2 separate regions of the Homo sapiens genome follow, and region 1 is linked to region 2. Evidence: promoter capture Hi-C in human tissues and cell types (Jung and others, 2019). All regions are on one chromosome and are shown on one strand. Each heading gives the region's core, a stretch centred on a gene start or on the middle of the fragment in contact. The rest is flanking DNA. Distances are from core to core; before and after follow the strand shown.

Evidence for each region. The method cuts DNA at HindIII sites, captures the fragments that hold promoters and counts their contacts. A contact is called where the count stands out against the background at its distance.
Region 1: a contact is called between a fragment that was not itself captured here and the fragment with the promoter of MTO1 in region 2, in 1 of the 25 tissues and cell types used here (lymphoblastoid cells).

The regions. Positions count from the first base shown.
Region 1 is chr6:72,675,624-72,678,758 of GRCh38, reverse strand. All of the region lies in intron 1 of KCNQ5 (potassium voltage-gated channel subfamily Q member 5), which reads right to left. It overlaps KCNQ5-IT1 (KCNQ5 intronic transcript 1), which reads right to left. Exons shown (of 4, transcript NR_120503.1): 3 at 1,545-1,664; 4 at 201-405. Among named protein-coding and RNA genes, the nearest start is that of KCNQ5-IT1, 47 kb to the right of the region's middle. The HindIII fragment of the contact is 4,524 bases long and covers 1-3,135 here.
Region 2 is chr6:73,460,446-73,463,774 of GRCh38, reverse strand. It overlaps MTO1 (mitochondrial tRNA translation optimization 1), which reads right to left and starts at 2,038. Exons shown (of 12, transcript NM_012123.4): 1 at 1,704-2,038. The coding sequence starts at 1,920. RefSeq lists enhancers at 1,498-1,547, 1,568-1,627, 1,698-2,027, 1,200-2,045 and a silencer at 2,478-2,537. The HindIII fragment of the contact is 26,494 bases long and covers 1-3,329 here.

The sequences.
Region 1 (3,135 bases), core at 103-2,602, 780 kb after region 2:
CTTAATTCAGCACATTAATAAAAAAGATCTTACAAATTAAATGTTGTTCCAAAGACATCTTAAACACCTACTACAGCATCATACACATTTATTGAGAAAATGCCAAGTTTTATATTATGGTATTCTAGCAACTCAATGCAATAAAAATTTCCAGAAAAACAAATGGAATAATGTAATTTTTATAAAAAATACGATACATATGACCAGTGTTACTTTTTTTTATTTTTTTGTTATGCATTTGGAAATGCCACTAATGCAAGGTTTTATTTAATAATTGAATAATAATGTAGGGTAATGTGGTGTTGAAGAGAACAAGCCCTGGGGTCTATCTGATTTGAATCCTGATTCCTCTATTTATGGCCTGGAGAAAGTTTCTTGATCTTTCTAGGCTTCAATTTTCTCCATCTGTAAAATGAGGATATGGTGTAGGGTTGTGAGAATTCAATGTAATAATGCACTTAAAGTGTTTAATATGATGTTTGGCACATGGTGAGCTGAAAGCATTATTATTATCATCATCTTTTTCTTAGCATTGCTTAATGTCCTTTTATAGGATTATTTCTTCTCCTAGCAATACTTCTGAGAGAGTCAATAGATTTCAGCTAGAGAAGCAAGGTCACAAACCAATTCAGCCCTACAGTGAGATACTTTTCATTTGTTTCTCTCAAAATATTCAAGTTGTAATTCCAAGAAACCATTCATCCTTTATGCTAACAGGCCTCTAACCACAATTTAATAAAATTTCTTTTTTTCCATAAACAAAGCCAAACATAATATCTTGTTCATCTGATTATAAGCAGAATAGCTGCTATCTGAACACTGCTGTATCACAGACAATAATGGCAGTAATTACTAGCCACCGCACCCCCAATCACCTAAGACATGTGGTATCCATCAGTGTAACAAAAAATGAAAAGAGGCAAACAAGTCTGCTCACTCAACTTTGTATGTTGATATTTGATTTATAGTTCAATAGAGTTACATCTATTCTATAAGTAATTCCTAGGTACTTAGTATGTTTTGAACATGGTGGATGCCTAGAATAAATTTCTCATTCAGTTGAATTCCTTAGTATTGTGTTAGGTGTCACAGATACAAACTAAAGTTAAACTTTACCTTACCTAAAGCTTAAAACCTTATTCTGAGGCATATTGTATTCAGAATTAAAAATAGTCAAGTTCTTCAATTACAAGATAAGATTTAGTAAAGGCAAGGCAAGCATGAGTAAAATGTTAATACCAGATACATTTATTCTCTGTGACAGCAGACACTGATAACATTTCAAGGTAAATTTAAATAACTTAGAAAAGTTCATGGTATGGCCAACTGTGATGATAATCTTTACTGCAAGATCCCTGGGGCAAAAAGTTATTTTATGTCATTCTAATATAAGTACTCCCATTTCTGAGGTTCCCAAATTGTCTAGAAACTATCCCATCTGCACCATTCCCTAAAGATAATCAATCTCACCAGGTGATCTTAAACCCAAAGGCTGGTGCTGGTGTTTCTGGAGGACAGTATCTGAAAAGCCCAGAGTTTCTTACCCCAGTAACTGATGTAGCTGATGTGAGTAAGTCCTGGCTTGCCTGACCACATGTCAACACGGAGGAGCAGGGTAGTAGAGGCTTCAGAGAGTAGTACGCCATGCGGTTTTGGTTGACCCACTGAGAGGGAAACAAGGTAAACTGAGACTATAATTACTGAACTAATTTGCTTTGGTGGCCTAAGAAGATAAGTCTTCAAAAAAATTCAAAACTTGTTATAGAAACATACATACATACATATACCCCAAATCAAACCAAAAACAAAGCTGAAAAAAGTACTAACTAAAAATATCAATTATACCTAAGAATTAAAGACTCCTGTTATCCAAAAACACTGCTTTGGAGTTATGCCAGCAAGCACCCTTAACATTTGGTCCTATGTTACAGCAGCCTTTTTTGAAGGAAAATACAATGAAGAATCTTGACACATTGATTTCAACTCCACATAAAAATATTTTTAATCAGCATTTTATATGCCCAGATTTTAAAGAAAATGTCAAATGTATGGAAAAAAGCAAAAATAGATATAAACAAGGAGAAGTGACAGCATTTTTAAAAAGCAATGTTGGTCAATTAATGCAACCACGACAATCTAAAGGGATGAATAGTAAAATTTCATACTAATTACCAGAATCTTGTTTTCTAACATTTCCATACAGAAATATTTATGTTCTTTCTCAATTTAGGATGCTTACTCCAGAAATTCACTTCAAAAACTGGGAACAGAGACACCAATCTGCTTCTTCTCAGACTTACCATACAACGGAAACATCTTCTCCCTCCTGTGTCAGCCCTGAGCATATTCTGACTCAGTAAAATTGAGGTTATAATAGAGTAAAATACTTTATGATGGAAATTTTATTCTGCTGCTTTGTGACATAAAAAATTTAAATAATCCAAGAAAAAGGGAGAGAAAGACAAAATTTTCCATTCTTTCAGATACATTACATTCCCACACACTTCTCCCATTCCTAGCTCACATGCTGATGTGCATGCTGATGTGTCTTTGTGTTCAAGATAAGAGTAGAGAATACCCAGTCTTTTTCATGAAGTACGAAATAGGATGTGCAGTAGATCAAGTCAGGTTAGTTACCTCCCATTATCCAAAAACACTGCTTTTGTAACCTCAAAAGTCCAAAGGTCTTTGCAAGAGTTAATGAAATTAAATCCTATAATAATTGTATCTCCAAAGATACAGTGCTCTGAATTTACTTAAACAGTTACATAGGAGCAATAACCAGTTTCAAAATCAATATAAGATTCAGAATGGATATATTTAAAAACAAAAGAAAGAGACTGTCTAGTAAACTAGGTTAAAATGTTCAGTGATTTACTCCCTCAATTCTAAAATGGATCAATTTTTCTAAGCCAATGCTCCCATCTCATAAATCACTGGAAAATCCTTCTAAATATTAATGGTATAAGGCTACAGGAATATAAAACCCTAAGGCTTAGTTTAAAAGAATCTAGAGTGAAATAAGGGCCATGAATTCCACAAAAACAAAGTTTCACTGGGAGTCATTCTGGAAAACTGTCACACATACCTTCAGAAAGCTGGTATGAGAAGCATGCCAAGAAAGTTCAGTTATTA
Region 2 (3,329 bases), core at 789-3,288:
CAGCAAAACTCTGTCTCAAAAATGAAAGAAAAGAAAAGAAAAAACCCACCTGAATGTATGATGAGAAAAGTATAATCTTTTAGGAAATCATATAGCCTCCTCTCCCCCACCCACAAAACCGCAGTTAATAGTATATATTTCTTCACAGTTATGAGCTGAATGGTTATTTTAAAGAAGAATTTCAGGAATAAATAAGTGATTTATTCACAACTTTTACAAAACAAGTAAATATTCTAATTACTGCTCGCTCCTAAGCAAAAGGAAGGAGGAAAGACAAAAGTATACATAATTTACAAGTTGATGTTTTAGCTAGTATCTATCATGATGCTACAGAACGGCCATCCAACCATTACCCATTAGAGCAAAAAAAGTACTGTCCAGTACTAAACACAAAATCCAGGGACGACAACCCAGAAGGAATATAGGATGCAAAAGGTAGCATGGCGCTGGGCACGGTGGCTCATGCCTGTAATCCCAGCATTTTGGGAGGCCGAGGCGGGCGGATCACAAGGTCAGGAGATCGAGACCATCCTGGCTAACATGGTGAAACCCCGACTCTACTAAAAATACAAAGAAAAAAAAAATTAGCCGGGCGTGGTGGTGGGTGCCTGTAATCCCAGCTACTCGGGAGGCTGAGGCAGGAGAATGGCATTAACCCGGAAGGCGGAGCTTGCAGTGAGCCGAGATGGCGCCACTGCACTTGAGCCTGTGTGACAGTGCAAGACTCTGTCTCAAAAGAAAAAAAAAAAAAAAAGGTAGCATGGTTCTTCCAAAAGGCATCACAAAATCTTGACAGAAACACAAAGATCAGGCTGGGCAGAGTACTGAGCACCTGCAATCCCAGCTACTGGTTAGGCAGAGGCAGGAAAAGTTCTTGAGTCCAGAAAGCGGAGCCTGTAATGTGCAACGATCGTGCCTATGAGTAGTCACTGCACTCCAGCCTGGGCAACATGGCGAGACCCTGTCTCTAAAAAAATGTTTTTAAATAAAAACACAAGAACCGTTTAATAAAGGATTTTTTTATTTTATTAATATTATCATTATTTTGAGACGGAGTTTTGCTCTTTTGCCCAGGCTGGAGTGAAGTGGCGCAATCTCGGCTCACTGCAACCTCTGCCCCCGGGTTCAAGCGATTCTCCTGCCTCAGACTCCCGAGTAGCTGGGATTATAGGCGCCCGCCACCATGCCCGGCTAATTTTTGTATTTTTAGTAGAGACGGGGTTTCGCCGTGTTGGCCAAGCTGGTCTCAAACTCCTGACCTCAGGTGATCCACCTGCCTTGGCATCCCAAAGTGCTGGGATTAAAGAAGTGAGCCACTGCACCTGGCCATAAACCATTGTTAATAATGTTAATTCACCCTTTATCTGGAGTAACATAGTAGAAGGTAAACGCAGCAATGAACTAAGAAGCTACCAGCGAGTAGTTGGTAGCTCCCTTTCCCAAGGCACTGACCCCGAACCCCAACCTCCTACAACGGACGACTGTCAGCAGCAGCATAATCTATGGTTCGCAGAATAGACTAATATAGAGTTCTGGCCTGGCCCGCCTGATCCTTGCGAGACACTGATCGAGGCTAAAACCACAGAAGGTAGGATTCTCACTAGCTTTGAGGAAAGGAAGAGGTCCCCCGCTTCAGACCGGGGGAGGCGGGAAGGAAGCAGCCTGCGTCCTACGCCAAGTTCCACAGCACCCGCGCTCCTCACCGATCGTGTCCACGCGGTGAGTGAGGAGCAGAGTCCGAGAGCCGCACCGAGCGGCGGCGGTGGCTGCCTCAGTCCCGGCATGTCCTCCACCAATGACTATCACGTCGAAGTGCGGAGTCCGGGGCGCCGCGCTGTCACTGCTCAACCGTGCCAACGGAAATTGCTGCTTGGTGAAGGAAACCGCGACCCAACGGCCACAGCCTCGGAAGTAGAACATGCTGGGAGAAAAATCTATCTGACTTTGAAGCTGACACGAGTGACGGTCAAAAAAACTTACGCAACAAGAGACAATCTGCAGGGCGCGGCCATCTTGCTTTAATATCACGGGGTAGGACGTCTACGTCCAGCGTCGCCGCTGATTGGCGGTTTGGAGCTACTTTCCTGGTGAGGGAGATGGGTGATCGCACGGAGGGCCGGTTGTGTATTTTCTTTCCTAGTTCGTGCGGGCTTTTTTTATTATTATTATTTTTTATTTTTATTTATTTATTTATTTATTTATTTATTTATTTATTTATTTATTTATTTATTTATTTATTTTGAGACAGAGTCTCGCTCTGTTGCCCAGGCTGGAATGCAGTGGCGCGATTTCGGCTCACTGCAAGCTCCCCCTCCCGGGTTCGCGCCATTCTCCTGCCTTAGCCTCCGAGTAGCTGGGGCTACAGGCGCCCGCCACTACGCCCGGCTAATTTTTTGTATTTTTAGTAGAGACTGGGTTTCACCGTATTAGCCAGGATGTTCTCGATTTCCTGACCTCGTGATCCGCCCGTGCGGGCTTTTTTTGATTTCCTGTGGTTCTGGGTTGGGAGCTCCTACTAAAGGTCATCTTTTGTACTTTCTTAGGCCCTGCAGTCCTTATCGCCAGGTGGCCACCTACGATCAATGAATTTGATCACTTTGCCTTATCAGATCTTTGTGATCTGACAATCTGATACACCGTCACCTTCTGTTTGTCTATAAAAACTAAGGGCTGAAAATAAGAATAGATTCGGGCCGGGCGCGGTGGCTCACGCCTGTATTCCCAGCACTCTGGGAGGCCGAAGCAGGTGGATCACAAGGTCAGGAGATGGAGACCATCCTGGTCAACATGGTGAAACCCCATCGCTACTAAAAAAAAAAAAAAAAAAAAAAAAAAAAAAAATTAGCCGGGAGTGGTGGCATGCACCTGTAATCCCAGCTACTCAGGAGACTGAGGCAGGAGAATCGCTTGAACCTGGGAGGCCGAGGTTGCAGTGAACCAAGATTGTGCCACTGCACTCCAGCCTGGGCGACAGAGCAAGACTCCGTCTCAAAAAAAAAAAAAGAAAAAGAAAAGAAAAAGAATAGATTCGAAAGGAGTTCAAATATATTTGTGGACTGAAAGATTCATGATGGTGCCTGGGCATGGTGGATCACGCCTGTAATCCTAGCACTTTGGAAGGCCGAAGGGGGCAGATTGCCTGAGCTCAGGAGTTCGAGACCAATCTGGGCAACATGGTGAAACCCCGTCTGTACTAAAATACAAAAAAAAAAATTAGCCAGGTGTGGTGGCATGCACCTGTAGTCCCAGCTACTTGGGCGGCTGAGGCAGGAGAATTGCTTGAACCCGTAGGCAGAGGTTGCAGTGAGCCGAGATCGTGCCACTGCACT